Regions from separate parts of the Homo sapiens genome. Here region 2 is linked to region 1. Evidence: promoter capture Hi-C in human tissues and cell types (Jung and others, 2019). All regions are on one chromosome and are shown on one strand. Each heading gives the region's core, a stretch centred on a gene start or on the middle of the fragment in contact. The rest is flanking DNA. Distances are from core to core; before and after follow the strand shown. Region 1 holds the start of ZNF383 (zinc finger protein 383). Region 2 has its middle 5.2 kb from the start of ZNF567-DT.

What was found. The method cuts DNA at HindIII sites, captures the fragments that hold promoters and counts their contacts. A contact is called where the count stands out against the background at its distance.
Region 2: a fragment that was not itself captured here is called in contact with the fragment with the promoter of ZNF383 in region 1 in 2 of the 25 tissues and cell types used here (hippocampus and pancreas).

The regions. Positions count from the first base shown.
Region 1 is chr19:37,213,151-37,219,463 of GRCh38, forward strand. It overlaps ZNF383 (zinc finger protein 383), which reads left to right and starts at 5,064. Exons shown (of 6, transcript NM_001387601.1): 1 at 5,064-5,124. RefSeq lists an enhancer at 4,690-5,179. The HindIII fragment of the contact is 10,545 bases long and covers 50-6,313 here.
Region 2 is chr19:36,679,057-36,685,369 of GRCh38, forward strand. It overlaps a transcript of ZNF567 not described here. Among named protein-coding and RNA genes, the nearest start is that of ZNF567-DT, 5.2 kb to the right of the region's middle. The HindIII fragment of the contact is 6,888 bases long and covers 635-6,313 here.

The DNA.
Region 1 (6,313 bases), core at 3,814-6,313:
TCAGAAAAACTCCACATATTTTGTGTTAAAAACGAAACATTCTGGAAGTATTGAGTGTTGTGAGAGTATATATTTTTAAAACCAGTTTGTTTTTCCTATGCAACTGTATAAAAAGACATATCAAGTCTCACTCCCCCCACCACCCCAATCACTATAGGTTATCACTATAGGTATTGTTTCTGGTTCACGTTTCCAATACTTCTTTTTTCCTATCTTTTCTTTTTTTAGTGAATATAAACAAATGCTTATATCTAATCTAATTTCCTTTTCTTTTTTAGACGAACTATATGTTACACTGTTCTATACTTTCCATTTTTTATATATTCCAGAGTTAATGTCATTCCGTAGAGAGCTTCGTTTTTTTTTTTTTCTGCTGTGTGTGTATGGGCTGCATAAAACTTTATGATGTGACTGTGGTGATTTGAGCTGCTACCTTTATCAAATACTAAGCATCTATGTGGATGTTAATTTCTTTTTTTTTTGAGATGAAGTCTCACTCTGTCACCAGGCTGTAGCGCAGTGGCACAATCTCAGCTCACTGCAACCTCTGCCTCCCAGGTTCAAGCGATTCTCCTGCCTCAGCCTCCCGAGTAGCTGGGACTACAGGCGCGTGCCACCACACCCAGCTAATTTTTGTATTTTTAGTAGAGACGGGGTTTCATCATGTTGGCCAGGATGGTCTCGATCTCTTCACCTCATGATTCACCCGCCTTGGCCTCCCAAAGTGCTGGGATTACAGGTGTGAGCCACCGTGCCTGGCCGGGATGTTAATTTCTTTCTTTCTTTCTTTTTTTGAGACGGAGTTTTGCTCCTGTTGCCCAGGCTGGAGTGCAGTGGCTTAATCTCGGCTCACTGCAACCTCCGCCTCCCAGGTTCAAGCAATTCTCCTGCCTCAGCCTCCTGAGTAGCTGGGATGACAGGCGCATGCCACCATGCCCAGCTTATTTTTTGTATTTTTAGTAGAGATGGGGTTTCATCATGTTGGCCAGGCTGGTCTCGAACTCCTGACCTCAGGTGATCCACCCACCTCGGCCACCCAAAGGGCTGGGCGTGAGCCACCGCGCCCGGCCATGGATGTTTATTTCTCCATTTCCCATCCTCCTCCCTTTGTCTGTCTCTCTAACCACACACAAATAGCACACTGTTTTAAGTATAGAGGCTTTATCATGTACCTCATATAACTTCATGTAACTTCAATTCTACTTTCTGTCTCTATGAATACACCTATTCTAGGCACCTCATATAAGTGGATTCATACAATATTTGTCCTTTTGGTCTGGCTTATCTCACTCCGCATAGTGTTGAAAAAGAAAATAAATGGCTTTTATCTGAGGAATGCAAGCCTTCTTTATGTGATCAAGCCCAGAGAGGGGTTGGGATGACACAGCTGTTGTGGTGGCTCATGCCTGTAATCCCAGCACTTTGGGAGGCCTCGGTGGGAGGATTACTTGAGGCCCGGAGTTTGAAACTAGACTGGGCAACATAACTAAACCCTCTCTCTATAAATTTTTTTTTCAATTAGCCAGGTGTGGTGGTGTACACCAATAGTCCCAGCTACTCAGAAGGCCTAGGCGGAAGGATGCTTAAGTCCAGGAGTATGAGGCTGCAGTGAGCTGTGATCATACCTCTGCATTCCAGCCTGGGAGACAGAGCAAGACCTTGTCTCTAAAAAAAAAAAAAAAAAAAAAAAATGCTGGGTGCAGTGGCTCACACCTGTAATCCCAGTACTTCGGGAGGCCAAGGCAGGCAGATCACTTGAGGTCAGGAGTTCAAGACCAGCCTAGCCAACATGATGAAACCCTGTCTCTACTTAAAAAAAAAAAAAAAAAAAAAAAAAAAAAGGAAAGAAAAATTAGCCGGGCATGGTGGTGGGTGCCTGTAATCTCAGCTACTAGGGAGGCTGAGGCAGGAGAATCACTTGAACCCAGGAGGCAGACGTTGCAGTGAGCCGAGATCCCACCACTGCACTCCAGCTTGGGCAACAGAGGGAGACCCCATCTCAAAATAAATAAATAAAAATTAAAAAAATAAATTAAAAATTAAAAAAAAGAAATGAGTTTTTTCTGCTCTAAAATCAAAAGTTTGCAAGCTGCATTCCTTTCTGGAGGCTCTGGAGAATTTGTTTTTTTTCATTTTCCAAGTTGGAGAAGCTGCCTGCATTCCTCAGCTCATGGGCTCCTTTCATCTTTACACCCAATAATGGCTGGTCGTGTGTTTCTCACAGCACACAATTCCAACACTGACTTTATGCCTTCTTCCTCATTTCAGACCCCATGTGATTACATTGGGTCTAACTGGACAATCCAGTATAATTCCCCTATGTTAAGGTCAGCCGATTAGCAACTTTAATTCTACCTGTTAATTTAATTCCACTTGCCATGTAACATAGCATATTCACAAGTCCCAGGAACTAGCATGTGGGTATTTTGGGGGGAACATTATCCTGCCTACTTTAGATGTTGAGGTCATTCAAGAGGAAAATGATAGTTTTGTTAACATGTGATGTTAGAACAACTGAATTTCCATCTGGAAAATAATAACTTTGAACATTACCTCACATACACAAAAACTAACTTCAAGTGGATGATAGACCAAAAATAAAAACTAAAACTATACAACCTTTAGAATAAAACATAGGAGAAATTCTTCACAACACTAGAGGAGTCAAAGATTGTTAGAAAGACCAGAAAGCATGAAGCACATTTTAAAGATGAGAAATTGGATTTCATCAGAAGTAAAAACTGCTTTTTGAAAGACATCATGAAGAAACTGAGGGCTGGGCACAGTGACTCACACCTGTAATAACACAGTGAGACCCCATCTCCACAAAACACAAGAAAATTAGTTGGGGGTGGTGGTGCACACCTGCAGTCCCAGCTACTCAGGAGGATCGACTAAACCCAGGAGGTCAAGGCTGTGGTGAGCTATGTTAACACCACTGCACTCCAGACTAGGCAACAGAGCAAGACCCTGTCTCAAAAAAAAAAAAAAAAAAAAACTGAGAAGGTAAGCCCCAGGCAGGGAGAGAATATTTGCAATTTGCAATATGTATATTTGGCAAAGGACTTTTACCCAAACATATAAAGAATTGTTACAACTCAATAATAACCAATTTTAAAATAAGAAAATTTTATTTATTTATTTATTTATTATTATTTTTTGAGATGCAGTTTTGCTCTTGTTGCCCTAGCTGGAGTGCAACAGTGTGATCTCAGCTCACAGCAACCTCTGCCTCCCGGGTTCAAGTGATTCTCCTGCAGGGATTACAGGCATGCACCGCCACGCCTGGCCAATTTCGTATTTTTAGTAGAGACGGTGTTTCTCCACGTTGGTCAGGGTGGTCTCGAACTCCCAACCTCAGGTGATCTGCCCGCCTCAGCCTCCCAAAGTGCTAGGATTACAGGCGTGAGCCACTGCGCCCAGCCGAATATTTTCAATAGATGTCACAAAAGAAGATAAAAGAATGGCAAATAAGTATATGAAAGTATGCTAAGTTCATTGACATCAGGAAATGCAAATTAAAAACATAATTTGATACTACTGCTCATTCCTTAGAATAGTCAATAGATGCCTGATGTGGGGTTTGGGAGGTGGGGATTGACTTAACAATGTGGGGGGCAGAGGGCGGTGAATAAAAATATTCTATATCCGCCGGGCGCGGTGGCTCACGCTTGTAATCTCAGCACTTTGGGAGGCCGAGGCGAGCGGATCACGAAGTCAGAAGTTCGAGGTCGGGAGTTCGAGACCAGCCTGTGAGCTCGAACCCTGTCTCTACTAAAAATACAAAAATTAGCCAGGCATGGTGGCGGGCACCTGTAATACCAGCTACTCGGAAGGCTGAGGCAGGAGAATCGCTTGAACCCGGGAGGCGGAACTTGCAGTGAGCCGAGATCTCGCCACTGCAGTCCAGCCTGGGTGACAGCTAGACTCCAACTCAAAAAAAAAAAAAAAAAAATTCTATATCCAGTAACACTAAGGATAAATGCTTGAGGGGATAGACACCCTATTTTACATGATATGATTCTTACGCATTGCATGCCTGTATCAAAACATCTCATGTACCCCATATACAACTACTATGTACCCACAAAAATTTAACTAAAATGCTTAAAAATTTTTTAATTTTAAAAAATATTCTATATCCTGATTACGATGGTGGTGACAAGGGTTTAGACATGCGTTGAAGCTTACCGAACAGTTCACTTAAAATGAGTGCATTTTATTGTATCTAAATTATTCTTCAGTAAAGTTGATTTTTAAAAAACATGCACACAAATATAATTTACAAACTATAACATTAGCTCGTTTATGGTGTACCATTCAGTCACTTTTAGTGTATTCAGAGTTGTGCAAACATCATTATCTAATTCAAGAAGCTTTGCATTACCCCAAAAATGAACCCTTTAGCTATTACCAATCACTCACAGTTCCCCCTAATCCTGCTAGTCCTAAAAAACTCTAACTTACTCCTTTTCCGTAGATTTGACTATTTTAAATATTTCCTATAAATGCAGTCATACAGTATGTGGCTTATCCACGGATGAAGGCAAAAATGACGATTTAGTCAGTCTAGCATTCTCAGAGAGCGTTATAACGCCTAGTACAGTCCGGGGTCCTGGGTGCGTTCTGCACTGAGTCGGCTTGGGGCAGGAAGTCATTTAAGCGACCTCCTTCCACTTGCCCCAGCGCCTCACCCCTTCCTGCTCTAGACTACAGTTCCCAAAAATCCTTGCGGCTCTAGTCAACATCTGGCCCGAAGCTGGCGACCTTTTCCTGTTTCTCAGGGAACTCCCTGGGGTTGGCCGGTACCATGGAGGAAGATTGTCTTCAGCGTGCAGGGCCAGCGTCCTACGGCAGTTTCACTCTGAGCCTGTGTCTGGATCACGGAGACGCGGGGTAGCGGTTCGGAGTGCGGAGCAGGGATGTCCCCGAGCTGTGCAGCTGCAAGAACCCGAAAAAACAGGCGCCATCTTCTCGGCGCGGTCCTACTCCGGACTGTATTTCCCAGAGGCCCCCGCGAGTCCAGGGCAGCCCCTTCATTTGCCTGCTGGACCCTCCGCCTCAAGGGTAGGGGAAGTGCGCGGTGAGCGGCCTGGGTCTTGCAGGCTCGGCTGGGGCCCGCAGGTACGTGCATGGGAGTTTGAAGGGACTGACCAGGCTGGTCTGGAGTGTTGGGCATGTATGAGTGTGTCGGGCATGTATGAGTTGGTCGGGCTGATAGAGGGGGTGGTGGGGAGGCGGGCGCGAGGCGTGGGCTTCCGTGTGTGAGTGTGACCTTATGTGACTGTGCCTCTCTGTGTGCGCGGGTGTGATTGTATATCCTCGTTGTAGTTGTGTAATTGTAACAATGTAAGGCTGTATGTGTAGGTATGACTGTGTCCCGTGTTGGGACTGTGATTGTGTGTGGCTGTGTAACTTTGCGTGACATTTGTGGAGGGTGTTTGTGTGGAGAGAATCTGATGAGGCTGTGACTGTGTGTTAGTCTGAGGGGTGTGTGTAATTGTGTTTGTATGACTGTTAGCAGCACTTAAGTGTACTGGATGCCTTACTGAGTAAATCTACTACCCAGAAATAACCCAGTAACGTGAGAATGTGAGAGTGTGACCATGTAACTTTATGTAGCACTGTGTCTGCGGTTGGAAAGTGCGTGTAATCGTGCCGGGGTGATATGTGTGTCCTAGTGGTCATTGTGTTATTTTGAATGTGTGATTGTGTGTAGTGCTCAATAGGGGTCCTGGGGAGGGGGGAACTGTAACTTTGTGTGGCTCAGTAGTGCGTGTGGTATTGTGACTATCTGTAGCACTCTGGTTCTGAATGGTGCTATGTTTGAGGGGTCTGTAAATATGCTAGTGTAACTTATCCTCAAGGTAGATGTGGGACAATGATTGTGTGACCATATATAGTGTTATTGTTTGGGTGAGGCGTGCCTGTGGAGGTCTATGTGGGTCCCCATGGTGGCTGGGTGACTGCAGCATTGGGTAGGGGGTGCTTGTGACTGTCTTTGTGACTCCAGCTCTCCCTGTGAGGTCAGGACAGATTCTCGAGAGGAGAGACCTCACCCCTCTGATACCAAGAATGCTCATGACAGCCTACACTTCTCTGTTTTTGTTTTGTTTTGTTTTAAGGCGGAGTTTCGCTGTTGTTGCCCAGGCTGGAGTGCAATGGCGCAATCTCGGCTCACCGCAACCTCCGCCTCCCCGGTTCAAGCAATTCTCCTGCCTCAGCCTTCCTAGTAGCTGGGATTACAGGCGTGTGTCACCACGCCCTGCTAATTTTGTATTTTCAGTAGAGACGGGGTTTCTCCGTGTTGGTC
Region 2 (6,313 bases), core at 2,829-5,328, 540 kb before region 1:
TGGGCAGATCATGAGGTCAGGAGATCGAGACCATCCTGGCTAAGATGGTGAAACCCCGTCTCTAATAAAAATACAAAAAATTAACCAGGCATGGTGGTACGCACCTGTCGTCCCAGATACTTGGGAGGCTGAGGCAGGAGAATCGCTTGAACCCAGGAGGTGGAGATTGCAGTGAGCCGAGATTGCATCACTGCACTCCAGCCTGGGCGACAGCGCGAGACTCCATCCCCCCCAAAAAAACCACAGTGAGATATTACCGTGCACCTGTTAGACACCTGCTATTACAAACAAAGATGAAAGGTTAGTGTTGGTGAGGATGTAGAGAAAAGGAACACTGTTGCGAGCACTGTAAATTACTACAGCCATTTTGGGAAACAGTGTAGAGCTTCCTCAAAAAACAAAAAATAGAATTACCATATGAGCCAGCAACCCCACAAGGAATTGACATCAGTATGTCAAAGATGTCTGCACTCCCATGTTAACTGTAGCATTATTCACAATAACTAAGATATGGAAACAAGCTAAGTGTCCATCAATGGATGAATGGATTTTTTAAATGGAGGATATATACACAGTGGAATACTATTCAGCCTTAAACATGAAATTCTGTCATTTGCAACAACATGGGTATACCTAGAGGATATTATGTTAAGTGAAATAAGCCAGACACAGAGAGACAAATACTGTATGATCTCACTTACATGTGGAATCTAAAAAGTTGAACTCTTAGAAGTAGAGAGTAGGAGGGTGGTTACCAAAGGTTGGGGGGTGGGGATGTGGTGGATGGGGAAAGGGGAAATGCTGGTTAACAGGTACAAAGTTTTGTTTAGATAGGAAGAATACATTCTGCTGTTCTTTTGTCCAACACAGTGACTATAGTTACTGTATTGTATATTTCAAAATAGCTAAAAGATAGGATTTTATATGTTCTTACCACAAAGAAATGGTAAATATTTGAGGTAACGGATATGCTAACCAGCCTGATTTGATCATTCCATCATGTATTGATGCATACAAATATCACATTGTACCATATAAATTATACAATTATTGTACAAATATATACATCAATATACAATTGTACATACAATACATACAATTGTTGTACAAATATATACAATTATTACTTGTCAATTAAAAATTTTAAAAAAGAAATCTGAAATAACAGTTGCCCCCTATGAGCATCTCACGATAAATCCCTTTAATCTCCTCTACATATACTGAGTATTAAAAAACAGAATCGTCTAGAACATTGTTGCTGTTCTGAGACCTGTCTTTCTCATTTAACACAAGTGAACATTTTTCTTTGTCAGCAAGTAGCGGTAAACATCATCCATTCTAATGGCTGTATTTTTTAATAGGTGGAGTTGTATCTTCAGGGCAGATTCCTAACAGTGGAATGGCTGGGTCACAAGGGAAATGTGTAGGTAGTTTTTGTACATGTTGTCAAATTTCCCACCATAAGGGTTGTGCCGGTTTGTTTTCCCACCATCAGTGTATGAGACTGCCTGATTCCCTGTACATTCATTCCTGTGGCTGCTCTAACAAGTTACCACAAACTTGGTAGCTTTAAACAATAGTTTACTCTCTCACATTCTGGAGGCCAGAACTCCAAAAATCTAGACATCAGCAGGGCTGGAGCGCTCCTAGAGATTCTAGGGGAGAAGCCTCACTTTGCCTCTTTTTCTGGTGGCTGTAGCCATTCCTTGACCATTCCTTGACATTCCTGGCCCCATCACTGAGATTTCCACCTCCGGGGTCACATTGCTGCCTCTTCTTCCTCTGTCTGCCAGTCTCCTTGTGTCTCTTTTAAGGTTGCTTGTCACTGGATTTAGGACCCAACCCACCCAGACAATCCAGGATGAACTACTCATCTCAAACTTCTTAATTTAATTTCATCTGCAAAGACCCTCTTTCCAAATTAAGTAACATTCACAGTTTCCAGAGATTAGGACATGGACATATCTTTTTGCAGGGTCATCAGTCAGCCGACTATATCCTGTCTCACCAACAGAATACATTGTTATATTTTTTAATTTTTGTCATCTTGATAGGTTAAAAATGGTCTCAGTATTCCCCCTCTCCCCCTGCCAAGAGACAGGGTCTTGCTTGTTGTCCAGGCTAGAGTGCAGTGGTGCAATCATAGCTCACTGTAATCTCAACCTCCTGGCCTCAAGCAATCCTTCCACCTCAGGCTCCCAAAGCACTGGGATTACAGGTGTAAGCCACCTCACCTGGCCTGTCTCCATATTATTTTAATTTGTATTTCTCTTTTTACACATTTAAGGGTCCCTTTTACATATTTTTTGTGAATTGTTAATTTCTCTTACCCATCTTTTCTGTCAGGTTTTTGGGTCTTTCCCTTGACATTAAGAGGAGTTTTGTTTCTTTGAGACAAGGTCTCACGCTGATGCCCAGGCTGGAGTGCAGTGGTGCAATCACGGCTCACTACAGCCTTGACTTCCAGGGCTCAAGTGATTCTCCCACCTCAGCCTCCCAAGTATCTGGGACTACAGGCACACAACCACACCCAGCTAATTTTTTGTATTTTTTTGTAGAAATGGAGTTTCACCATGTTGCCCAGCCTGGTCTTGAACTCCTGGGCTCAAGCGATTGGCCCACCTTGTCCTCCCAAAGTGCTGAGATTACAAGGTGTGAGCCACTGCACCTGGCCAAGTTTTCTTTTTTTTTTTTTTAATTGGGAATTGTTATAGACTGATTTGTTCCCCCCCAGTTCATATGTTTAATATTATTAACTATAGTCATCATGTTACACAACAGAACACCAAAACTTATTCCTCTCATATAACTGAAACTTTGTATATACTGATCAACCTAACTCCTAATTTCTAGTAGTATAAGACTTAAGACATACAACCAGATATATGTAGAGAGAGTGAACAAGAGGGAAGTAACAAAATAATTACATGATAAAGGGTGGGTGCTATGGCTCACACTTGTCATCCCAGCACTTTCAGAGGCTGAGAGACAGGGGGATCACTTGAGGCCAGGAATTCAAGATCAGCCCGGGGAACATAGTGAGACCCCATCTCTATAAATTTTTTAAATTGTCTGGGTGTGGTGGTGGTATGCACCTGTAGTCCTAGCTACTTGGGGAGCTGAGGCTGAGGTGGGAGGATTGTTTGAGTCTAGGAGTTTGAGGTGGCAGTGAGCTATGATAGTGTCACTGTCACTCTAGCCTGGAGTACAGAATGAGACCCTGTCTCAAAAAAAAAAAAAAAAAAAGGTTAAATTACAAGCTACTACTATGTACAGCAACATGGATATAATGTTATCTATATGTATCTATATACTTAGAAATAATGTTGAGCAAAGGAGGTCAGACACAAGAGTACATACTATATGATTCCACCTATATGAAGTTCAAAACCAAACCAAACTATTCTATTATAGAGGTCAAACTAATGGTTAACTTTGAGGTATAATGATTGGGAAGAGATATGAGGGAGCCTTCTGGGATGTTGGAAAGTTTCTATGTCTGTAATGGCGGTTGCATGGGTTTTTTTTTTATTATTTTATTATTATTATTATTATTATTTTTTTTTTTTGAGACGGAGTCTCACTCTGCCGCCCAAGCTGGGGAGCAGCGGCACCATCTTGGCTCACTGCAAGCTCCACCTCCCAGGTTCACGCCATTCTCCTCCCTCAGCCTCCCGAGTAGCTGGGACTACAGGTGCCCTCCACCACGCCCAGCTAATTTTTTGTATTTTTAGTAGAGACAGGGTTTCACCATGTTAGCCAGGATGGTCTCAATCTCCTGACCTCGTGATCCGCCCATGTCAGCCTCCCAAAGTGCTGGGATTACAGGCGTGAGCCACCACACCCAGCTGGGTTTATTTTTTTAAAAAGCCAGCACGCTATAATTTTAAAATTTGTGCTTCCTCTCTCTCTCTTTGTGTGTGTGTGTGTCTGTGTGTGTGTGATTTCATGTGTTCATTTCTTTTACTCACTTTTTCTATCGGGTTTTTGGGTCTTTCCCTCGATTTTAAGAGTTTTTTGTTTTTGTTTTTTTGAGGCATGGTCTCACTCCAACGCTCAGGTTGGAGTGCATTGGCACAATCACGGCTCACTACAGCCTCAATATCCTTGGGCTCAGGTGATCCTCCCATCTCAGCCTCCCAAGTAGCTAGGACTACAGGTGCACCACCACACCCAGCTAATTTTTTGTATTTTTAGTAGATACGGGGTTTCACCATATTGCCCAGGCTGGTCTCAAACTCCTGGGCTCAAGTGTTCCACCCGTCTCAGCCTCCGAAAGTGCTGGGATTACAGGGGTGAGCTATACACCCTCAAAATAAATGGCATATCTGCATTTTTAAATCACATTTTTCTACCTACAAAACCAATTTTCTTTCAGTTCTGGTTTTTGTTTCTGAAGCCCATATTTTATTACACTGAATGAAACCTGTGCATGGGTAATTCATTTAAATAAATATAATTTCTACTGGATTGGTGGATTTAAAAGACTAATGATGGCCAGGTGCAATGGCTCACGCCTGTAATCCCAGCACTTTGGGAGGCCAAGGCAGACGGATCACAAGGTCAGGAGATGGAGACCATCCTGGCCAACATGGTGAAACCCCGTCTCTACTAAAAACCAAAAATTAGCCATGCGTGGTGACATGCGCCTTGTAGTCCCAGCTACTTGGGAGGCTGAGGTGGGGGAATTGCTGGAACCTTGGAGGCGGGGGTTGCAGTAAGCCGAGATCATGCCACTGCACTCTAGCCTGGCAACAAGAGTGAGACTCTGTCTCAAATAATAATAATAATAAAATAAAATAATAATAAAAGACTAATGATACCATATAGTAGCGAATAGACATTCTCATAGTATGTTGAATATTGGTGCAAACTTAATCAGGGCAATTGATATAGATGTGTAAACAGGTTTTAACTATGAAAACCTCATTCTCAGCAAAATATCTAAGACTATCCAAAATATACAATTCACATGTGCACAGAAAAGGCATATGCAGTAAAACATTGCATATAATGGGAAAAAGCTGGAAAGAACTTACATATACAAACAGAACAGTGCAGCCATTAAAAGATTATGACACAGTTCATAATTTAGTGACATGAAAATTTGTTCACTATATTTTGTTAGAAGAAACAAGTAGATTTCAAAACAATTGTTATATAACCCTGTTTTGAATGAAAAAGTCCTATAAGCCTATATCCATGCACTTATTCACAAATGAGGTGAAGTGATTTGGAATAAAGTGTTCAAAGTGCTTTACTTTAAGCTTTTTTTAATATTCTCCAATCTTCTGAATTAAGAATCTACTAATTTTACAATGAGAGAAATCTGCTTTGAGAGCAGAAAAAATAATAATAAAAGGAGATATGTGTATGATACATGGAATGCAATGTTGAAATGGTCTGAATTCTGGCTGAAGAGACCCAAACTTTCTTCATAGACATTCCAGAGCACTAATTCAAATACTGCCTTAAAGGTCCTAAATCTAGAATCCTAAGATTTTATACACAACGAGTTCCTCTTATCAGTTGCCTCTCATTTACCTGGGCACAGAACTGCTGTTAACCAACCTCTTCACGAACTATTGCTCCAAGAAGGAAATCACATCTGGTTTGGACATAAATTAATAGGGTAATTAATAATAAACCCTTCACATAGGCAAAGAAATGGAATTTTGGTCTGATGTGGCTATGGAGAATTGAGACCATTCCTTAATCATCAAGCAGAAAGAAGTCAAGAAAGTATTCTGAAGGATTAGGATGATAACACTTTAGAAATAACACAGGAGAGACGCCCATTTCCAACTCTAGGAATCTTAAACCAGTCCTTCAGAAAGTTACCTAAGAACCCTGAAGTTTCCCTAATCAATCAGGGTGAAGAAAGTAAGATGTTCCCAGAATACAGAATTTGAACTGGAAAGGGGAAAACAGATGTAAAAAGGGAGACCCGGCTGGCCGAGGTGGCTCATGCCTGTAATCCCAACACTTTGGGAGACTGAGGCAGGCAGATCACGTGAGGTCAGGAGTTTGAGACCAGCCTGGCCAACTTGGCGAAACCCCATGTCTACTAAAAATACAAAAATTATCCGGACATGGTGGTGGGCACCTGTAGTCTCAGCTACTCGGAAGGCTGAGGCAGGAGAATCCCTTGAACCTGGGAGGCGGAGGTTGCAGTAAGTCGAGATCACGCCACTGCACTCCAGCCTGGGCGACAGAGCAAGACTCGGTCTCAAAACAAAAAAAGGGGAGACCAAATTGGCTAGTTAAATAAATGTATGTAGGTGTTATATCACACCCCTGAATAATTCCTCCG